Regions from separate parts of the Homo sapiens genome. Here region 1 is linked to region 2. The links are contacts of gene promoters, found by promoter capture Hi-C in human tissues and cell types (Jung and others, 2019). All regions are on one chromosome and are shown on one strand. Each heading gives the region's core, a stretch centred on a gene start or on the middle of the fragment in contact. The rest is flanking DNA. Distances are from core to core; before and after follow the strand shown. Region 1 holds the start of FARSA (phenylalanyl-tRNA synthetase subunit alpha). Region 2 overlaps ZNF791 (zinc finger protein 791).

Region 1 (6,031 bases), core at 1,574-4,073, 300 kb before region 2:
GGGCAACATAGCAGGAGGCCATTTTTACAAAAACATTTTTTTTAATTGCCAGGCGTGGTGGCGCCTGCCTGTGTTCCCAGCTACTCAGAAGGCTGAGGCAGGAGGATCACTTGAGACCAGGAGGTTGACGCTGCCGTGAGCTGTGTTGTTGCCACTGCACACTCTAGCCTGGGTTACAGAGCAAGACCCTGTCTCAAAAATAAATAAAAATAAGCCGGACATGGTAGTTCACACTTATAATCCTAGCACCTTGGGAACCTGAGGCAGGCAGATTGTTTGAGCCCGGCAGTTCAAAACCAGCCTGGGCAACATGGTGGAACCTCATTCTTACAAAATATATATATGTACACATATGTAATATATTATATATGACATATAATGCATAAATATATGAATAGTATGTATATTATATATAGCATATAATATATAATATACATAACACAAATTAGCCTGGCCTGCTGGTACACACCTGTAGTCCCAACTACTCGGGAGGCTGAGGTGAGAGGATTGCTTGAGCCCAGGAGGTGGAGGCTGCAGTCAGCCAAGATCATGCCACTGCACTCCAGCCTGGGCAATAGAGTGAGACCCACTCCCTAAATAAATAAATAAATAATCAACATAAAATGGGAGGAGAGAAGGGACTTTGAGAAATGTATCCTTAATACAGAACCTCATATAGGGTCAGGATTTGGGGATATGAGTAATCCCATTTTACAGACTCAAATAATAATTGTGATGTAAAAGGAATAAATGTGTTCTGCTTATAAGAGTGTTCGAACATGGGCCACACTCAATTTAGTAAGCAGTGTGAATATGTGTGGGCATTTAATTCTCACAGTAACCTGGGCTCCAATCACCTCCATGTGAGCAAGAAACTGAGGCACAGAAAGACTACACCTTCTGGTTGAATGACATAAATAACAGATCTAGGATTCTTTTTTTTTTTTTTTTTTTTTTTTGAGACAGAGCCTTGCTCTGTCACCGAGGCTGGAGTGCAGTGGTGCGATCTCTGCTCACTGCAAGCTCCACCTACCAGGCTCAAGTGATTCTCCTGCCTCAGCTTCCCGTGTAGCTGGGATTACAGGCACCCCCACTGCACCCAGCTAATTTTTGTGTTTTTAGAGGAGATGGGGTTTCGCCATCTTGGCCAAGCTGGTCTTGAACTCCTGACCTCAGGTGATTCACCCGCCTCAGCCTCCCAAAGTGCTGGGATTACTGAGCCTGGCCAGCAGATCTAGGATTCTAATCTACCTGTGCTGACGTAAGTCACCACTGCCCACATGTGATTACTGACCATTTGAAATGTGGTTGGTCCGAACTGAGATGTGTTGTAAGTGTAAAATACGCATCAGATTTTGAAGATTTAGTATGAAAAAAAGTGCAATTTTTTTTTTTTTGAGACGGAGTTTCGCCTTGTCACCCAGGCTGGAGTGCAATGACACGATCTCGGCTCACCACAACCTCTGCCTCCCAGGTTCAAGCGACTCTCCTGCCTCAGCCTCCCAAGTAGCTGAGATTACAGGCATGCGCCACCACGCCCTGCTAATTTTGTATTTTTAGTAGAGACGGGGTTTCTCCATGTTGGTCAGGCTGGTCTCAAACTCCCGACCTCAGGTGATCCACCCGCCTCGGCCTCCCAAAGTGCTGGGATTACAGAGGTGAGCCACTGTGCCCGGCCGAGTGCAAAATATTTTATTAGTCATCTTTTTTTTTGTAAGAGTCAGGGTCTGGCTGGCTGGGCGAGGTGGGTCATGCCTCTAATGCCAGCATTTTGGGAGACCGATGCAGGAGGATAACCTGAGCCTAGGAGTTTGAGACCAGCCTGGGCAACATGGCCAAAACCCATACTTAAAAAAAAAAAAAAAGCTGGGTGTGGTGGCGCGCACCTGCAGTTCCAGCTACTCAGGAGCCTAAGGTTGGAGGATCCTTAGAGCCTGGGAAGTCAAGGCTGCAGTAAGCCATAATTGCACCACTGCACTCCAGCATGGGTGACAGAGCAAGACCCTGTCTCAAAAAAGAAAGATGTTTTGCACTGTGTTTCTATAGGACAGTGCTAATCTAGGCCATGCAGTATTTGCACTGACGTTACTCTCAGCGCACAGGGGTGGGAGGATCTGGAAGGTTTATAATTTATGACTTCATTTCCACCAACTCTCTGTAGAACCTTGGGCAAGTCATACCACCCTCTGAGCCTCAGTTTTCTCACATGTGTAATGCGGTTATATCAGTATCTACATCATAAAGTTTTGGGGATAAATGAAATACTACACGTGAAGTACTCAGTTCTGGGCTAAGTACTACCACATACGAGGTAGTCCACACAGGTTAGGTGCCACCTTGACTTACTAGGTGAATTCCTTTTCCCTCTATAAAAAGGGACGGTACCTACCCAGCCTTCCTTTGAAATTTTAAAAGTAGCTGACATCGCCAAAATGACCATCTCTGGAGCCCACCACCCACCGCCTCTCCTAGGGCAAGAGAGAATACCAGAAGGGCAGAGGGTTCTGTAACCCAGAGACGGGGAAGTCCAAGGTCACACAGCCCGCTCGAAGTGAGGCTAGATAAAACTCAAAACAGGGCGGTGCTTCTGACCTTGAGATAATCAATTTTACCCCTCTGGTCAACCAGACGCCATTGATGGAGCCAGGGTGGAGGTGGGAACTGAGTCCCATGCACCTTTTGCGGCTCCGTCGCCACACTCAAGATGACGACACATTGAGCCCTGTTCTACAGTTAGACACATTCAAGATGGCGGTACACACTCCGGTTCCGGTTCCGGTGGCTCAGCTCCCCCCGCCCACCCGGGCCCGGACACGCTGAGCACACTGGAAGGAGTCATGGCGGATGGTCAGGTGGCGGAACTGCTGCTCCGGCGGCTGGAGGCGTCTGATGGCGGCCTGGACAGCGCCGAGTTGGCGGCTGAGCTGGGCATGGAGCACCAGGCGGTGGTGGGCGCCGTGAAGAGCCTTCAGGCGCTGGGCGAGGTGAGCCGGGCCCGTGATGCCGGACCGCCTTGCCCTTGCACCTACAGTCCCCTTGCCACGGGCGCTCTACGTCCAAGCCAAATTCCCTCAGGCCTAGTTTGGGGTAGCTGTATATGTGTCCACTCCGGGATGTGCGGGCGGGAAGTGGGACGAGTGAGGGCCCAGACGCACGGATGTTCCTCATGCAATAAACGTTTATTGAGGCACGGTCAGCGTGGGTAGAGGGTACGATGATGGACGAGGAAGTCGCGGTTGCTGCCCTCACGCAGGTTGCGACGTAATAGGAAGGTGCTTCAAGAACCAGAGTGATGGGGGAAAACAGGGGACCCAGCTGTGACAGCTGACCCAGCCTTGGGGGTCAGGGAGAGCGGCCTGGTGCAGGTGACGGCTGAGTCTGTTCTCTGTTGAGGAAAGTGATAGCACTTTAGAGATCAGTGGCCGGGATCTTGGGGGATGGCAGGCGGCAAGGGAGACCAGCATAGCTGTAATTGCAAAGCCTCTTAGGTCTTTACCTCATGAGGGAACTGGGAAGCGATAGCAGGAGCTAGAGCCGGTCAGATGAGTGTGCTATCCACATCACCTTTGGGAAGAATTGGCATGGACAGGACTGGAGGTGAAGGGATGAAAGAAGAAGCTGGCACTTCCCCAAGCTGGAGGGCATGATGTCTGGCTATGGGAAGGAAGCTTGGGGGAGGTGGGGAAGGCGTGGGATTCAGGACAAGGCAGGGGGCGCACAGATGAAGTCCAGCCTTCTGACTTGGGCAAGTGGACAGTGACAGAGTCACAGGCGTAGGATGCTGAGGGGCCCGTGGGCCACCCAGAAGGCTAGATCCATGGGGCCAGGATCTGGGCTGTTTATCCGTAGAGCTCATGTTCTGTGCCCCACTTTGGTCTCAGCTTGTTTGTCCAATCCATTCCATAATCCTGGCTGATGGCCATGTTATTCCCATTTTGCAGATGTGACAACTGATGGTCAGTAACATAATCAGTGTGAATAGAAGAGGCCGATGAGCCCAGATTTGAAATTAGGCACTCAGGCTGCAGAGCCCATAGTCCTCAATGCAGAGGAGAGATGGCAGCTGTGTTGTGTGGGGTGACAGTGCCTTGACCAATATGATCTGACATTTGTATACGTCACAGAGGGTTAAATAATATAAGGAGGTGAGGTTCAATCTAATGACAGTAATAGCCATAAAAATAATTATAGTAATTAGAATTTATGCCGGGTGCAGTGGTCACACCTGTAATCCCAGCACTTTGGGAGACCAAGGCGGGTGGATCACGAGGTCAGGAGTTCAAGACCAGCCTGGCCAAGATGATGAAACCCTGTCTCTACTAAAAATACAAAAAAAAATTAGCCAGGCGTGTTGGTGGGCACCCGTAATCCCAGCTACTTGGGAGGCTGAGGCAGAGAATTGTTTGAATCGGGAGGTGGAGGTTGCAGTGAGCCGAGATCGCACTCCAGCCTGGGCGACAGAGCGAGACTCCGTCTCAAAAAAAAAAAAAAAAAAAATTTATGCAGTGTTTGTCACGTGGTAGGCACTATATATTCTTTCTGAGTATTAATTTAGCTACTCCTTAAAATCATCTGAGGTAGAACCCATCACACCTTTCTCTTATGGATGAGAAGAGTCACTGAGAGGTTAAGCAACTTTCCTGAGGTCACACAGTAAGTGAAGGGCAGAGTTGGGATTAGAATGAAGTGGGAGCCAGGCCCTGTGCACTCTACTTACCCTTGTTGTCCTTGTCTTCATGACTCTGGACCTGGAACCTCAGTTTTTGTTTGTAATGTGGACCTCCAGGGCCCGTCTCTGACATTCTGGGCACTGACATGTGAACATTTAAACATGGAGACAGGCTGGGTATGGTGGCTCATGCCCATTATGCCAGCACTTTGGGAGGCTGAGGAAGGAGAATCACTTGAGGCCAGGAGTTTGAGACCAGCCTGGACAACATAACAACACCCTGTCTTTAAAAAGTAATTTAAAGGGCCGGGCACGGCGGCTCACGCCTGTAATCCTAGCACTTTGGGAGGCGGAGTCGGCCGATTACGAGGTCAGGAGTTTGAGACCAGCCTGGCCAACATGGTGAAACCCCATCTCTACTAAAAATACAAAAATTAGCTGGGGGTGGTGGTGGGCACCTGTAATCCGAGCTACTCGGGAGGCTGAGGCAGGAGAATCATTTGAACCCGGGAGGCAGAGGTTGCAGTGAACCGAGATCGCACCATTGCACTCTAGCCTGAGCGACAGTGCAAGACTCCGTCTCAAAAAAAAAAAGTAATTTAAAAATTAACCAGGTGTGGCGGCACATGCCTGTAGTCCCAGCTACTCGGGACTGGCGGAAGGATCGCTTGAGCCCAGGAGGTCTAGGCTGCAGTGAGCTATGATCACACCACTGCACCCAGCCTAGTGACAGGGTGAGACCCCCTTTCAAAGAAAACAAAAACAAACAAAAAAATGTGGAGACATATCAGTTCACCTAATTTTTCACATTAAAATCTGTCACAGGTTCAAAACCGACAGAATTTGTCTTCTGCCAGGTAACATCTTTAGTGGTGTACTTTACCCTGGGAGGTGTAAACTATCATTATTACTACCCCTGTGTTACATAAGGGAAATGGAGACACAGCAAGGGGAAGTCTTTCCCTTGAGACCACTTGGCTGTAAAGTTGTATAGCTGGGATGTGAACCTAGCTTTAAGGGCTGTGCTTTCAACCTGGGACCCAGCGCTGCAGAAAGGGGGTGCCTGGCTCTGAGCCTCACCCCTGCCTGGACACCCTCCCCACATTTCCCTCTAGGTCATCGAGGCTGAACTTCGGTCCACCAAGCACTGGGAGCTTACTGCGGAGGGCGAGGAGATTGCCCGGGAGGGCAGCCATGAGGCCCGTGTGTTTCGAAGCATTCCCCCAGAGGGCCTGGCCCAGAGCGAGCTTATGGTAGGAGCTGCGGGGTGAATGGGGAGTGAGTGATGGGATGAAGGTGGCCCTCGTGCCCCACTCACTGCAGCCTCTCTTTTCCAGCGACTGCCCAGTGGCAAAGTGGGCT
Region 2 (5,615 bases), core at 2,757-5,256:
TGATGATAATATTTGATAGTATACATGTTGTTTGGAAACAGTTAACAAAATATTTCTAAGAAACATCTAAGAAGCTTTTGCTTCAAATAAATAAAAAATGCATTATTTTAGTTGCATACAACCAAACATAAATGAAAATAAACCGATGGAGAATATTCAGGAATAGTTGGAAACACCCACAATTTGTCTGATATGAGGAAGGTGATTATTCTCAAATGGAAGGATGGGGGAGAGTAGTCACTGTATAATGCAGTAAGAGAACAAACTCCCATATAGTTGTTTTTTTTTTTTTTTACTGTTTTACTGTAGCTGTCATGGTGGAATCAGGAATACATAGTCCCTAGTGGCATTAACAGAACAAGAACCATACAAATTAAAGCTCATAGAAACACAAAGGGAAGACAGAACCTCAGAGAACAATGCCAACCATGACAGTCTGAAATAGATGCTTGGGCCACACATGAAGGCTAGAAGGAAAATCCAAACTGTACGTGGATCTTTGATGCGGAGCTTGTGGAGACAACTGTGGAAACCAACACATCTCTTTGAGAATGGAAGTCAAGCAGCTCAGGGTGTTTTCAGGATACTTTTGATTGGCAGAGAAAATAACCAGGAAAATGAGCAGGAAGCAGGCTGTCTCCCTGTATGGTGGGGTTCCAATACCTGACTAATGTCTTCTTCACTTCTGCCTGGCAAATCTCATGCAAGTGAGGCTATAAGTGAATTTCAACATGGATCTATAAAGGGAACAGATTCTAGGAAATTTACCTGTGTCGACAGGTAGCAGGAGGGCCACGTCCAGCTCTAGATTTTATTGTCCTATCACAGGTGTCCTTCCTGAATTCAAACTCTACTATTCAAATCCCAGACAGAATTATAAAAAAAAGGCGAAAATAATAATTCGCATAAGAATATATGATAAACTTCACATACTTACCAACTTATGCCAGATGTTTAATAAAAAGGAAAATGGAATAAGGCTCTTCTAGCTGAAATTCATTTTATTTATTTATTTATTTGAGATGGAGTCTCGTTCTGCTGCCCAGGCTGGATTGCAGTGGCACGATCTCGGCTCACTGCAAGCTCCGCCTCCCGGGTTCACACCATTCTCCTGCCTCAGACTCCTGAGTAGCTGGGACTACAGACGCCCGCCACCATGCCCAGCTAATTTTTTGTATTTATAGTAGAGACGGGGTTTCACTGTATTAGCCAGGATGGTCTCAATCTCCTGACTTCGTGATCCGCCCACCTCGGCCTCCCAAAGTGCTGGGATTACAGGTGTGAGCCACTGCGCCCGGCAAGAAATTTATTATATTTTAATTTAATTTTTTTGATATGGAGTCTCGTTCTGTTGTCCAGGCTGGAGTGCAGTGGTGTGATCTTGGCTCACTGCAACCTCTGACTTCCAGGTTCAAGCATTTCTCCTGCCTCAGCCTCCCAAGTAGCTGAGATTACAGGTGCCCTCCAACATGCCCAGCTAATTTTTGTATTTTTAGTAGAGATGGGATTTCACCATGTTGGCCAGGTTGGTCTCGAACTCCTGACCTCAAGTGATCTGCTTGCCTTGGTTTCCCAAAGTGCTGGAATTACAAAGGAGTGAGCCACCGTGTCTGGCCAAGAAATTTAAAAAGCAGTTTTTCGGAAAAGGTGAAATAAATATATAATGGGTAATATATGCACCACCTTCCACATGAGGCCAGTAGGAAAAATCCTAGTTACAGTGTGTCAGTATTCAACAATCTCTTTATTCAGAGAACAACTGAAAAACTATACACAAATTAAAACTAATTGTATATTAAAAATACACTTCTACTAACACTGGTCTTTAAAAGAAAAAAAAAATACACTTCAGGCCGGGTGCGGTGGCTCAAGCTTGTAATCCCAGCACTTTGGGAGGCTGAGGCGGTCGAATCACGAGGTCAGGAGATTGAGACCATCCTGGCTTAACACGGTGAAACCCCATCTCTACTAAAAATACAAAAAAAATTAGCTGGGCATGGTGGCGGGCGCCTGCAGTCCCAGCTACTGGGGAGGCTGAGGCAGGAGAATGGCGTGGACCCGGGAGGCGGAGCTTGCAGTGAGCCGAGATCACACCGCTGAACTCCAGCCTGGGCAACAGAGCAAGACTCCGTCTCGAAAAAAAAAAAATACACTTCAGTTTACTCATGAATCAAGACATCAAGAGAAAGAGAAAAGTTTTACTAACTGATTTAATGAGAAAACACAACCTTTTAAACTTTTGACCACTGCTTAAAGAGTACTTACAGAATTATCTCACTTCCAAGACTTCTTGGAAAAGTAGTTAAGTTACAATTCATAGTCCAGAGATGTACTTGAAGAATGAGCCAGTGATAAAAAATTTTTAACTTTTTTTTGGTGTGTGGGATGGAGTCTTGCTCTGTTGCCCAGGCTGGAGTGTAGTGGCACAATCTCAGCTCACTGCAGCCTCCACCTCCCAGGTTCAAATGATTCTCCTGCTTCAGCCTCCCAAGTAGCTGGAATTACAGGTGCATGCCACCACGCTCAGGTAATTTTTGTATTTTTAGTAGAGATGGGGTTTCACCGTCTTGGCCAGGCTGGTCTCGAACTCCTGACCTCAGGTGATCTGCCTGCCTTGGCCTCCCAAAGTGCTGGGATTACAGGCATGAGCCACCATGCCTTGCCTTAACTTTTATATCGTGTGTGATGAATTTATATCATGGTGTGAATTTTCTGGAGCATTTTACAGGCAGAGATTGCTTAATCATGGGTATATGTTCTGAGAAACGTGTTGTAGGTGATTTCCTCATGGTACAAACATCACAAAGTGAACTTACACAAATCTAGATGGTATAGCTACAACACATCTAGACTATATGGTACAGTCTATTGCTACTAGGCTATAAACCATACAACATGTTGTTGTACTGAACACTGTAGGAAATTGTAACAAAATGTTAAGTATTTATGAGTCTAAACACAGAAAATACACAGAGTAAACATGCAGTATAAAAGATAAAAAAGGATGCACCTGCATAGGACACTCCATGAACATAGCTTGCAGGACTAGAAGTTGCTCTGGGTGAGTCAGTTGAGTGGTGAGTGAATGCGAAGGCCCAGGATGTTACTGTACACTAATGGAGAATTTATAAACACTGTACACTTGGACTACACTACATTCATAAAAACATTTTTTCCTCAATAATGAATAAACCTTAACTTACTGTACATTATTTTCTTTATAAACTTATTTTTAAAAACTTTGTAATAATTTAGCTTAAAACACATTGTACAGCTGTACAAAAATATTTTATGTCCATATTCTATAAGCTTTTTCTATTAAATTTTTTTAAACTATTTTTGTTAAAGACTAACTAAGACACAAACACACATTAGTGTAGGACTACACGGGGTGAGGATCATCAATATCATTGTCTTCTGCCTCCATGTTTTGTCCCGCCAGAATACGTTCAGGGGCAGTCCTGCACATGGAGCCGTCATCGCCTATCATAACAAAGTTTTTCCGGGAATATCTCCTTAAGGACCTGCCTGAGACTGTCTTACTGTTAAAAAAACACAGGAATACATTCTAAAACAGGATTGTAAATATATAAACCAGTAACTTAGCCATTTATTATCAAGTATATATTGCACATCTGTGCTGTAATTTTTTTTTTTTCGAGACGGAGTCTCGCTCTGTCACCCAGGCTGGAGTGTAGTGGTAGATCTCAGCTCACTGCAATCTCCACCTCCCGGGTTCAAGCGATTCTCCTGCTTTGGCCTCCCAAGTAGCTGGGACTACAGGCACACCAGAACGCCCAGCTAATTTTCGTATTTCTAATGGAGACAGGGTTTCATCATGTTGACCAGGCTGGTCTTGAACTCCTGACCTCAACTGATTCTCCCACCTCAGCCTCCCAAAGTGCTGGGATTACAGGTATGAGCCACTGTGCCCAGCCAATTTTTTTTTTTTTTTTTTGATACAGTCTCACTGTCACCCATGCTGGACTGCCATCACGTGATCTTGGTTCACTGTAGCCTTGAACTCCTGGGCTCAGGCAATCCTCCTGCCTCAGCCTCCCATGTAGATGGGACTACAGGGTGTGCTACCACACTTAGAAAATGTTTTTATTTTTTGTAGAGACAGGGTCTCACTAGGTTGACCAGAGTAGTCCTGGCATCAAGCAATCCTACTGCCTTAGTCTCCCAGTGTTGGGATCACAGGTGTGACCATGCCCAGCTGTGTTGTACTTTTTTTTTTTTTTTTTTTTTGAGACAGAGTCTCGCTCTGTTGGCCGGATCTCAGCTCACTGTCAGCTCGGCCTCCTGGGTTTATGCCATTCTCCTGCCTCAGCCTCCCAAGTAGCTGGGACTACAGGCGCCCACCACCACGCCCGGCTAATTGTTTGTATTTTTAGTAGAGATGGGGTTTTACCGTGTTAGCCAGGATGGTCTTGATCTCCTGGCCTCGTGATCCGCCCGCCTTGGCCTCCCAAAGTGCTGGGATTACAGGCGTGAGCCACCGTCCCCGGCCGCTGTCTTGTACTTTTATACAACTGAAAGTGCAGCACGTTTACACCAGCACCATAAACACTTAAATAATGTGCTGCACTATGGTGTTACTACTGCTACTAAATTGCGGTTGATAGAAATGTTTTAGGTGTTATATAATCTTATGGGGCTACCAACCTATATGGTCCATTGCTGACTGAAACATGATTATGTGGTACCTGACTATACATGAATCATCTTGTATCTCGCTTTCTATATTACTTACATTGACAGGATTTCTCTCTTCAGTGGGAATTTTCACAACTTTGAAAGCATCTGTTAGAATTGAAAACTTTCTCCTATTTCTCACATTTATAGAGTTTCTATCGATTGTGCATTCTCATATGTTTTTTTAAGGATGTGGACACACTGAAGGCTTTTCCACATTGCTTACATTCAAGAGGTTTCTCATAATTGTGAATTCTTGTATGTCTTTGAAAGGAACTGTGAAGACTAAAGGCCTTCCCACATTCTTTACATTTATAGGGTTTCTCTCCAGTATGCATTCTCATGTGTCCTTGAAAGCTTGTGGGATAAATAAAGGCCTTCCCGCATTCCTTACATTCATAAGGTTTCTCCCCAGTGTGAGTTCTTTTATGTATCCGAATGTAACTAGAACAACTAAAGGCTTTTCCACATTGTTTACATTCATAGGGTTTCTCTCCAGTGTGAGTTCTTTCATGTGTTCGTAACGCACTAGGAAAAATGAACACCTTCCCACAGTCCCTACATTTATAAGGTCCGTCTCCAGTGTGGGTGATCATGTGTCTTCGAAAGTTCTCAAGAGAAATGAAGGTTTTTGCACATTCCTTACACTCATAGGGTTTTTCTCCAGTGTGATTTCTCTTGTGGATTTTCAAATCTAGAGGATAATTGAAAGTTTTCCCACATTTTTTACATTCGTAGGGTTTCTCTCCAGTGTGAGTCCTTTCATGTATTCGAAAGTAACTGATTCTACTAAAGGCTTTCCCACATTCTTTACACTTATAGGGTTTCTCTCCAGTATGCACTCTCACGTGTACTCGAAAGGCTGGGCGTGCACTGAAAGATTTCCCACATTCTTTACATTTATAGGGCTTCTCTCC

The links. Contacts are between HindIII fragments. The study calls those that stand out against the background at their distance.
Region 1: a contact is called between the fragment with the promoter of FARSA here and a fragment that was not itself captured in region 2, in 1 of the 25 tissues and cell types used here (spleen).

Annotation. Positions count from the first base shown.
Region 1 is chr19:12,930,503-12,936,533 of GRCh38, reverse strand. FARSA (phenylalanyl-tRNA synthetase subunit alpha) reads left to right here and starts at 2,823. Exons shown (of 13, transcript NM_004461.3): 1 at 2,823-2,984; 2 at 5,785-5,922; 3 at 6,007-6,031. The coding sequence starts at 2,838. FARSA-AS1 (FARSA antisense RNA 1) reads right to left here and starts at 6,012. Exons shown (of 3, transcript NR_149078.1): 1 at 5,988-6,012; 2 at 3,497-3,564; 3 at 3,238-3,385. RefSeq lists a silencer at 1,483-1,588 and enhancers at 2,625-2,919, 2,641-3,140, 3,151-3,220. The HindIII fragment of the contact is 13,322 bases long and covers 1-6,031 here.
Region 2 is chr19:12,628,499-12,634,113 of GRCh38, reverse strand. ZNF791 (zinc finger protein 791) reads right to left here. Exons shown (of 4, transcript NM_153358.3): 4 at 280-5,615. The coding sequence ends at 4,854. LOC105372279 (a long non-coding RNA gene) reads left to right here. Exons shown (of 4, transcript XR_007067142.1): 4 at 1-975. Among named protein-coding and RNA genes, the nearest start is that of ZNF791, 20 kb to the right of the region's middle. The HindIII fragment of the contact is 6,065 bases long and covers 974-5,615 here.